Linked DNA regions of Homo sapiens: region 1 is linked to region 2. The links are contacts of gene promoters, found by promoter capture Hi-C in blood cells and fetal thymus (Javierre and others, 2016). All regions are on one chromosome and are shown on one strand. The core of a region is centred on a gene start or on the middle of the fragment in contact, and the rest is flanking DNA. Distances in the headings are between cores, read along the strand shown. Region 1 overlaps MICU1 (mitochondrial calcium uptake 1). Region 2 holds the start of PLA2G12B (phospholipase A2 group XIIB).

The links. The method cuts DNA at HindIII sites, captures the fragments that hold promoters and counts their contacts. A CHiCAGO score of 5 or more calls a contact.
Region 1: a contact is called between a fragment that was not itself captured here and the fragment with the promoter of PLA2G12B in region 2, in 1 of 17 cell types (endothelial precursors). The highest score is 5.8, in endothelial precursors.

The regions. Positions count from the first base shown.
Region 1 is chr10:72,383,962-72,389,802 of GRCh38, reverse strand. The region is part of intron 10 of MICU1 (mitochondrial calcium uptake 1); the gene reads left to right. Among named protein-coding and RNA genes, the nearest start is that of DNAJB12, 32 kb to the right of the region's middle. The HindIII fragment of the contact is 1,145 bases long and covers 1,011-2,155 here.
Region 2 is chr10:72,953,146-72,958,586 of GRCh38, reverse strand. PLA2G12B (phospholipase A2 group XIIB) reads left to right here and starts at 3,781. Exons shown (of 4, transcript NM_032562.5): 1 at 3,781-4,112. The coding sequence starts at 3,902. The HindIII fragment of the contact is 2,206 bases long and covers 1,823-4,028 here.

The DNA of each region.
Region 1 (5,841 bases), core at 334-2,833, 570 kb after region 2:
AGCTCTAGAGTGAGCTTCAGCCCATATAACTCAGAATATTCCAATTTCTGCCAGGAGAATATCCAGGTACAATAAAGCTCCACTGTAAAGCACCTCAGGATAGTACAGATGCAGTAAACCTGTGGGTTCAGTTACGTCCTCGGTGTACTTTGAACTATAAAATCAGAAAATAATCACACAAATATAGTCCCTGGTCTTTACTATTCACGCCCCTGCACAATTCTACTTACACTGAAAATTATAATTTATGGCATAGTTGGCCTTGATTCTTTGTAGTTATTCTATACGTGCAGTTTACCTTATTATCTGACAAGCCAAAAGAACAAATAATAAAATCTATGGCATAACTCCTACAGGAGCTTTCTGCAACCCCAAGTATTTTTTCTGAAGTTTTAGTCACATCTTCAAATGGTCTCAGTTTCTTTTGTCTCTGGAGGGACAAGGATGGCAGAGATGACCTCTGAGAACCTTTGCAGCTTTCAAATTCTTTGAGTCTAATAATTGGAATGAGTAAGGGAGCCTCAAGTCTTTTGTCATTTAGGCTCTAACTGGATTGTTGGGGAAGTCAGAAATTACTGATGGAGTCAGCAATTTCTAGCACACAACAAACTCTTATATTCTGAACAACTGTCTTTAACAGACAAGCTGCCACCCACTCCTGAACTGTAATAATCCGGTAGCACTGTCCTGTCCAGGACTGTGAGGCCATCACACATCTGGAACACTAACAGCAACTCTCATTTCATAGTAGTTTCTCTGTGCCAGGCACAATGCTTAGTGCTTTATGCATGTTATCGCTTTTAATCTTTAAAACCTGAATTATCCTCATTCATCTTCACTTTATGGATGAGGAAAATATCAAATGAAGCCACTTGATCGTGGTTATCCAGCTTAGTGGTGGAAAAGCCAGGATTCAAGCTCAGGTCTCTCTAATTCCCAGTCTGTGTTCTTTCCACATCGTCGTGTTGCCTCTCAGTATACTCCACAATTCTGTTAGAGTCTGAAAAGCTTTGCTGAAGCACAATCCAGAGGGGACTGTGGCTTTACCATTTCAAACCATGCTTCACAGTAGCATTGGGAAGACAGACTCTGGACTTTTTTTTCCCAGTTGCTTTTGGCTAAGAGTTGACCATTCTTAGGGTGAGAATGAAGTCCTTTTGATAAACTATGATGTTTTAGAGATAGTGCCCTTCTCTTGAATATGAAATGTGACCTTTTTTTCCCCTACAATTGTCTGTTCTGTTCAGGTATAGGTTCTACAGCTCAGACACAGACATCCATAGTCCTTACCTTACAATAACAGACTCTTGGAGTTGTCTAATCTAGCTTCTTGTCCTGCATAGGAACGCCTTAGTAGACACATCTGTGATCTTTACCTTTGGAACCATATTACTTTTCACTGAGGAAACCAATACACAAAAGCCTGAAGTTATTTAAATAAAGTCATGTAGCAAGAAAGTTGATATCCTTTTAAGGGATACCACAGACCAGAAAAAGGCATGTATGCTAAGCTGCGCTTTTCTCAACATCAAAATACAGGATATAGATACACCTTCCAATGACCAAGGTGTTCCTCACCACCTCCGCTCATTGGTATACCAGTGCTCTGTTGCACTTTTAGATACTGTTCTAACATCTAGCATTTATTGAGCGTTAACTATATGCAAGAAATTGTGCTGAATATAAATTTTGGTTTTAAGTTCAAACCTGAGTTTGAGTCCCCGCTATTCACTAGTTTTGTGACCTTGAACAAATTCCTTAAGTTCTCAAAGCCTCAGTTTCCAGATCTGTAGAATGGTGATAGTAGAATACTTGTTTCAGGGTTATTGTGAAAATAAAAAGAGATAATACTATATTAATATACTAGGTTGACATTAAAATTGTACCAAACTGCCTGTTCTGGTTTTCAACCCATAGGTGCTGGCTTTCTTCTGCCTGTTTATCTTATTAGGGGGCTGGAAACAACCTATACCAACATGGCAACATCATAAAAAGTGTTTTTTTTTTTAAATCATCCTTAAAAAAAAAAAAGCACCAGATAAGGCTCTTTGTTCTCTGAGGAAGTGGAATCTACTGCTTTTTTTTAGTCACTTTTGACATTTTTATTAGCTTAGAAGTTCTAAGTTGTTTATACTCATTAATGAGGATTGAAGCTTCTAGGTTCTCCTAAGTTTCATCATTCATCCAAAAATTATTGGTGTCTCTGCCTTCAGAAGCCTTTATTAAAAAAGTTCTCTGTTCCTAGGAATATCTAACCCCTATTGATATGTCTCATATCTTCAGCATTCAAGGGGGAATTCATTAGACTGTAAATTCTCAAAGACTTGAACCATGTTTTCTACAACTTTGTGTGCTATTCAGAGCCTAGAACAACTCTTTATATAAACAGATGTTCGTTTATGTTATGTAAATGAATTAATTCTAGACCTTTCCAGATCCTGCAAAGGATGATGAAATACTCTAGTAAGAGCGTAGGGTGAGGGGAAGAGTGTTAGGACTGTAGCACCTTCCCATGTCATTAATTTCCTTTGACTCCTTGAGCAGGTCACTACTCTGACCCTCAGGTTGGAGTTATAAGTATCTCTAAGGGTTCATGCAGATTTGAAATTGTATGATTATAACTAAATCCGCTTTTTACTGAATGAAGTAATGTTTTAAGTGACATGTCATAGCCTAAAATTATTTCCAAATCTATTGCCTCACAGGGACTGTTAGCCCAACTTGTTTATGTGAAATCTTTATGAAAGTGAACTGACTTATAATTGTCAGGTACATTTGAAGTAAGAGCAAGACTTGAATTCCCAAAAGAAGTGTGGCAGTTTTAATTTATTTCCTTGTTAGGAAATGTAAAACTTAATTAGACCTTGGCTAGTTTCCCTGTAAGATCTAATTTATGGAGTTTGGTATAGTAGGTAAAACAGAATGATGGTTCTGTAAAGTGCACTCTGTCAAAAAATGAGTGCAGGCCAGGGACAGTGGCACAACCTTGTAATCCCAGCACTTTGGGAGGCTGAGGAGTTCCAGACCAACCTAGGCAACACAGTGGGACTCTGTCTCTACAAAAAATACTTTAAAATTAGCCAGGCATGGTGGCACACACCTCTAGTCCCAACTACTTAGGAGGCGGAGGCAGGAGGATCTCTTGAGCCCAGGAGGTTGAGGGTACAGTGAGCTATGATCATGCTACTGCACTCCAGCCGGGGTGACAGAATGAGACACTGTATCAAAAAAAAAAAAAAAAAAAATAGGTGGCGGGGGATGAGGGATGAGTGCGGCTCTATATAACGTAGAAGTTGAGGAACTTCAAAAAGATAGTCCCTTGTCCGGGCACAGTGGCTCACGCCTGTAATCCCAGCACTTTAGGAGGCTAAAGCAGGCAGATCACCTGAGGTCAGGAGTTCAAGACGAGCCTGGCCAACATGGGGAAACCCCGTCTCTACTAAAAATACAAAAATTAGCCTGGTGTGGTGGTGGGCACCTGTAATCCCAGCTACTCAGAAGGCTAAGGTGGGATAATTGTTTGAACCCGGGAGGCAGAGGTTGTAGTGAGCCAAGATCACGCCACTGTACTCCAGCCTGGGCGACAGAGCGAGACTCCGTCCCCCTCCAAAAAAAAAAGACATTCCCAATCATAAATGCCTTCCCCACTGGCCAGTTTCTGTGATTCAGAGTGTTGGCACAGCATAGCTGGGTTCTCTGCTTAGGATCTTAACAAGGATGAAATCGCAGTGTTGTTGGGGGGCCTTCATTTTCATCCGGAGTTCAGGGTCCTCTTCAAAGTTCTTTCCTGCTGTTGGCAGAATTCAGGTCCTTTCAGTTGTAGGACCAAGGATTCCTTTTCCTTGCTGGCTGTTGGCCAGTCATTGCTCTCAGCAGGTGACTACAGCTCCTTGCCACCAGGCCCCTCACAGCATGGCAACTCACTTCTTCAGAGCCAGCAACAGAATCTCTCGCCTCAGTCTGCTAAGATGGATTCTTACATAACATAGTTATGGGACTGACTAGCCCATCACCTTTCTCATATACAGTAACCTCATCACAGGATTATCGTAGTCACAGGTTCTGCCCACCTGAGGAGAGGGGATTACACAGGATATGTGGACCAGAGGGTGGAAATACTGGGCGGGGGGCACGTCAGAATTCTGCTCAGCACACCAGCCATCATTTTAGAAACCTACACCTTTGGTTTTATTATTCTGAAGATAGGGACATTTAAACTGATTTAAATTTTAGGGCTGGAAGATAACTTAAAAATCATTTTGTTTAAACCCTTACTTTGTTTTTTGGTTTTTTGTTTGTTTGGTTGGTTTTTTTTGAGACAGTCTTGCTCTGTCACCTAGGCTAGAGTGCAGTGGCATGATCTCAGCTCACTACAACCTCCGCCTCCTGGGTTCTAGTGATTCTCCTGTCTCAGCCTCCCAGTTAGCTGGGATTACAGGCACACACCACCACGCCCAGCTAATTTATATATTTTTAGTAGAGACAGGGTTTTACCATGTTGGCCAGGCTGGTCTTGAACTCCTGACCTCAGGTGATCTGCCCAGCTCGGCCTCCCAAAGTGTTGGATTTATAGACGTGAGCCACTGTGCCCGGCCTGCTTGTTTTTAACATTCATAAAGGGAAATGACTTGCTGAAATCACAGACCAGAAGTTCAGGTTCAGCGACTTCCACACCAGGGTTCTCATTAGTACCCTGGCACCTACTGCTGCTAGAAGGACCTAGAGAATTACATCGAGGACTCAATGCTTTTATGTGATGCCGGAAAGTGGGGCAAATTCACAGCAAGAATGTAGGGAGAGCATCCCCCAGACAGCCAAGACATGGCAGGAAGGCAGGAGTGTCACAAAGACATGTAAGGAAGAGATTACAACAGGAAAAAAGCTCCTATTTTATAAATTCTTTTAAAGTTTGTGGGAGGCAAGCTCTTGCACTTCAGTTCATCATTACATTTGGTAAAAACATTTATATGTGAAGAGGAGTGTTGGCCAGGATTCCATTCATTTAAGACAGAGTCATCAATTTTTAAAGTAAAATTATTCATGATGTAGGCAAGGAAGCTCAAATTCTGAAATAAATGTTTGCTTTATGAGGCATTTTCTCTGCAGAGGCCTGGTTTATTTTCCCAAATTTAAAGTCACTTAGCAATTCTAAAGATTGATTCTGGCTTATGATCACTTTGAATATATTATGATTTAGTAAAATTAGGTAAGTGCCCTAAGGAGGAGGAGAGCTGCTTTAGGGATTCATGATTACCATCATGAATTACATCACAAAGAGAAGAGATGGGGGTAGGATAAACTGTTAAAGCATCCACATAAATAGATAAGGAAAGACAAAATCAGCCAACATTACATCCCACTGAGAAAAAGATCAGAAAAAGAATGATTACTAGAATTACATCAATATCGGGAAAGTGTAGAGGGAGTATTTATTATAAGCATTGCTTCTTTGGGGGTTTCAAGGTTTACTACCTTGAGAAGCCTCGGAAGGTTTAATAAGACACTGTGGCTGGGCCCAGTGGCTCATAGCCTATAATCCCAGCACTTTGGGAGGCCAAGGTGGGTGGTTCGCTTGAGCCCAGGAGTTCAAGACCAGCCTGGGCAACATGGTGAAACCCCATCTCTACAAAAAAATACAAAAATTAGCCAGGCATGGTGGCGCGAGCCTGTAGTCCTAGCTACTTCCGAGGCTGAGGCGGGAGGATCATTTGAGCCCAGGATGTTGAGGCTGTGGTGAGCTGTGCCCTCACTACTGCACTCCAGCCTGAGCAACAGAGCAAGACCCTGTCTCAATTAAAAAAAAATTTTTTTTTAATAAAATTGTTTAAAAATGCAAAACCT
Region 2 (5,441 bases), core at 2,532-5,031:
CCTCCCAAAGTGCTGGGGTTACAGGGGTGAGCCACAGCTCCCGACCGTGTTATGTCATTTTTAAAAATGGATCAAAGACATAAGAGCTAAAACTCTAAGATTCTTAAAGAAAATATAGGGTCAAGATCTTCATGACCTTGGATTTGCCAACACTTTCTTGGCTATGACACAAAATCACAGTCAACAAAGAACAAAAAAATAGATAAATTGGACTTCATCAAAATTTAAAACTTTTGTGCAAAGGACACTACCAAAGAGTGAAAAGGCAACCAAGAGAATGGGAGAAAATGTATGCAAATTATATATCTGATAAGAGATTATTATTATTATTATTACTTGAGACAGGGTCTTGCTCTTTTGCCCAGGCTGGAGTGCAGTGGCACATTCTCAGCTCACTGCAGCCTCAACCTCCTAGGCTCAAACCATCCTCCCCGCTTAGCCCCCTGAGTAGCTGGGACTACAGGCACACACCACTCCATCTGGCTGATTTTTGTATTTTTTTGTAGTGGTGGGGTTTTGCCATGTTGCCTAGGCTGGTCTTGAACTCCTGAGCTCAAGCAATCCACCCACCTCAGCCTCCCAAAGTGCTGGGATTACAGGCATGAGCCACCATGCCCGGCCCTGATAAGAGATTAATATCCAGAGTATATAAAGAACTTCTGACACTCAACAATAACAAAAAACCCAATTGAAAAATGGACAAAGGTCTTCTTAAATAGATGTTTCTCCAAAGAAAATATACAAATAGCCAATAAGCACATGAAAAGATGCTCAACATCACTAATTATGAGGGAGATGCATGAGATACTACCTCACATTCATTAGGATGACTATTGTCAAAAAAAAAAAAGGAAAACAACAAGTGTTGACAAGGATGTGGAGAAATTAGAAATCTTGTCCATTGCTGGCAGGAATGTAAAATGGTACAGCCACTATGGAAAGCAGTATAATGGTTCTTCAAAAGTTAAACATAGAATTACCATCCAGCAAACCCACTTCTAGGTATATAATACCCAAAAGAATCGAAAGCAGGGACTTGAATGGGTATGTGTACACCAGTATTCATAGCAGCAGTATTCTCAGTGAAGTATTGATACATACCACATGGATGAACTTAAAATTATACTAAGTGAAATCAGCTGGACACAAAAGGACACATATTATATTATTCCATTTATATGGGGTACCTAGAATAGGCAAATTCCTAAGAACAGAAAGTAGAATAGTGGCTGCCAGGGGCTGGGGAAAAGGGGAATGGGGACTTATCACTTAATGGGAACAGAGTCTCGGTTTGGGATGATGAAAAAGTTCTGGAGATGGATAGTGGTGATGGTTGCACAACAATGTATGAATGTTCTTAATGCCACTGCATTGCACACTTAAAAATGGTTAAAATGGTAAATATGTTATGTATATTTTACCACAATTTAAACATGTATAAAGTTTCAAGAAATGGGGGGACAATACTATTAACAGCTCTAGTAACAGTTGCATCAGCAAAAAGATCCTTCTCAAAACAAAAAAGTATCAAATATTTCTTGCCATCTTACAATTGCCAAGAGCAACTGACATCACTTTCAGTTACACTGATTGAAAATTAGGTTGTTAGAAGTATAAACTTTGATGACCTAATCAATGAATTTTCAGAAAAGTCAGAAAAATCCTATGATCAAAATATTGCATACTTATAAAGTAATATATAGTATTATATAAAATTATGACACCAATTTTTAAAAAATTTATGTATATATTGATACTCATGTATCTCTATTAACCTTATTATATTTTACAAATAATAAAACATTTTTTAAAGGAAAAAGCTTTATAGTTAGCTTTTTTTTTTTGAGGCAGAGTCTCACTCTGTCACCCAGGCTGGAGTGCAGTGGCACGATCTTGGCTCACTGCAACCTCCACTTCCCTGGTTCAAGCAATTCTCCTGCCTCAGCCTCCTGAGTAGCTGGGATTATAGGTGCACGCCACCACGCCGGGCTAATCTTTTTGTATTTTTAGTAGAGACGGGGTTTCACCATATTGGCCAGACTGGTCTTGAACCCCTGACCTCAGGCAATCCACCTGCCTCGGCCCCCCAAAGTCCTGGGATTACAGGTGTGAGCCACCGCGCCCAGCCTATAGTTAGTATTTTAATGGCAAGTTCCCCTGCTTTTGGAAAAGGAGCTCTGCATTTGCAGTTTTGTTTTGGTGAAGCCCTACAAATTATGTAGCTGGCCCTGGTGCCAGCTTTCCCATTGATAGCCTGTCCAGCTTTGATCAAGTCACTTACCCTCTGCATCAGTTTTCTCACCCCCAAATGGGACTATTTAATCTGCTTCATGAAACTGGCATGAACATTTGTGCATATGTGCATGTGTATGTGTGTGCCTCTGTGTATGTGCATATGCATGAAAGTGGTTTGAAAAAGTATAGATGCTTTAAAATATTGGGTGGCATTGTTGTGACTATGAATAATTTTTAACCACTGCCCTTCCTGGAGTCTGAGTCTTCAGCCAAACACATTTACTGAAAATGAAGAAATTAATTCATTTAATTCATTATTTTCCATGGGGCTTTCCAGACAAACATTTGAGAAAGGAGCTAAATGATTCATGTGGTCCATAAAGGTATCATTTTTATAGACTGGTGATTATTTTATTATTACTATTTTTTTGAGACAGAGTTTCGCTCTTGTCGCCCATGCTGGAGTGCAATGGCGTGCTCTCGGCTCACTGCAACCTCCGCCTCCTGGGTTCAAGTGATTCTCCTGCCTTAGCCTTCCTAGTAGCTGGGATTACAGGCGGCTGCTACCTTGCCTGGCTAATTTTTGTATTTTTAGTGGAGACGGGGTTTCGCTATGTTGGTCAGGCTGGCCTCAAACTCCTGACCTCAGGTGATCCAAACGCCTCGGCCTCCCAAAATGCTGGGATTACAGGCATGCACCACCATGCCCGGTCCTAGACTAGTGATTTTATAGATGGCATTTCTTCACACGACTAAAAGCAGTCTAAACTGAAAACGATGCCAAAACACTAGACTTCAGTCAACAGTCTTAAAAGCCTACACTCCCAAATAGACTATTTGATAAACCCTCTGACTTCTAAGAAACTCAAAGGAAAAACACCACCAGGAGAGCCGAGTGCCCCCAGAATTGTCCTTGGACCATCTGTAGATCTTGTCTTATGATCCACTTATGCTGAGTGTAAACAGAGATACTGCTGTAAATAGAAGCCAAAATGTCCCTGCACTCAGATGGCTACATCTGGGAGCTCTGCCAAATTAGAGGATTTATGCGTCAGAGCCAGGTGGGTTCCACAGCAGAAGCTGGGGTCTCAAATCTGAACTTCTGCTTAACACACACTTGGTACCTACTCTGACACTATCGTGACCCTTGGTAAAGTGACTATTAATTCCTACCGCTGGGGCTTTCCTGGGCCCTGTACACATCCTCCTGACTCTCCTTGGAGACTATGTAGGTAGCTGGCTGAGGGGTGTGGCTAGGACCTTCGGTCAAGCTCTTCTATCAAGAGGCTGGCCCTGAAGAGCCACACTTGTAACTGATCAACAGCTTAACAAGCTGGTCGGGGTAGAACTCCGAATCCTTCACCGTTCCTGCGTCTCAGAAGCTGGCTAACATCTCCCTCCCTCCAGGGTGGTAGAATCCACTTTGAAATGTTCTCTCTCCCTGGCCCTCCCACTCCCTAACCTTTGCCCTCTTTCTAATTGCCCTGATCTCATCCCAACCTCCATAGCTATGTTTAAAGTCCACCTCTGGGGAACAGACAGATTGAATGTTCCAGATAATCCCTTTCCCAGTCCTGCCTGACATCTGGGTAGGGGGTTTGTCCCTGGAATTCTGGGACACTGGCTGGGGTTTGAGGAGAGAAGCCAGTACCTACCTGGCTGCAGGATGAAGCTGGCCAGTGGCTTCTTGGTTTTGTGGCTCAGCCTTGGGGGTGGCCTGGCTCAGAGCGACACGAGCCCTGACACGGAGGAGTCCTATTCAGACTGGGGCCTTCGGCACCTCCGGGGAAGCTTTGAATCCGTCAATAGCTACTTCGATTCTTTTCTGGAGCTGCTGGGAGGGAAGAATGGAGTCTGTCAGTACAGGTGCCGATATGGTGAGTGTGCGGTTTCTCTTTCTGTAAAAACTGTTGCTGGTGGACCCATGGACAGCCCCAGAGAGGTCACGATCTGTCTTGCACTTTTTCCTGTTATCCACTTAGAGCTGCCAGATTTAGCAGATAAAAATGTAGGACACCCAGTGAAATGTGAAATCCAAATAAACAACAAATAAGTCATTAGTATAAGTATGTCCAGTGAAATATCTGGGACATACTTATCCTGACAAATTCTTCGTTGTTTATCTCAAACTCACATTTCACTGAGCTTCCTGTATTGTATCTGGGAAACCTTCCCTGGGCCATTTTAATGAGTTTGTTGTGAGGCAGTTCTTAGGAAAAAAGGGTACCTGGGGTGGGAAGAAGGAGGGTGGGTATGAGAGGCCTCTGTGAGGAGTTCCCAGGGATGAAAACTGAAGCCGAACATTCAGAGAAAAATCTGCCATGGGGCAAAACCACCTCCTCAGCTGCTCTGTGCTCAGCTTGGAAACAAATTCTCCCTTCCCCCTGCTGCAGTTCACACCGTCCTCCCAGCTCTCAGTCCCTGACTGGCATCAATTTGCTGGACTTTCTCAAGGGAGCTGTCCCTGCCTGCAGCCTCGGCAACGACAGGCATGCTGTGGAGAGGAAGGGTTCGTGGCTCACCAGGGATCCCGGGGCTGTCCCCTGGACTTGGCGCCAGATGCAGATTTGTGAGCTGGCAGGAGCACTTCCCCTACCTTGCCTGAATATGGCTGGGGGTACACAGATATAAGGTGCACACCTGGCTGCCGGCACAGAGCCCCTGGTCCCAGGGGCCCTGGAAGTTAATGTAAGGGGAGCAAAATGTGGAGCCCCAGGCCTTGAAGCTGGGTGGCATCGTGTAATTGCCAATGCGCATGAAAACGTTTTCCAAAGCATGCACAGTCTCAGGTCTCAGGTAGCATTAGTTTTATGGTTTAATTTATCAACTATCTCATCAAGGGATTAGAAATGAAAATGGTGAGTCAATTTAGCCTAACAGGAAAACACATTTGAGAAATATTTTCTCCAAATACTCAACAGAGAAAAAGTCAGCTTTGAAGAGATGCACAAAAAAACTACATACTTCCCGGACTCACCCTTAAGTCTCTCTATTCCTTTTTGAGTGGGGAAAATCGCTTCCTTATACACTAAGAGTGACTAGGAGGTAATGGTTAATCATTGCATCAGGACCCAAAGTTTTGCAGCATAGATGTTTTAACAATCTATGGTTAAAATCTATGTTTTAACCATCTATGTTTTAACCATCTATGCTGCAGCTTCTTTGTGAAAGTTTCACAGAGAAAAATGCCTGGTCTGTTAGGACCC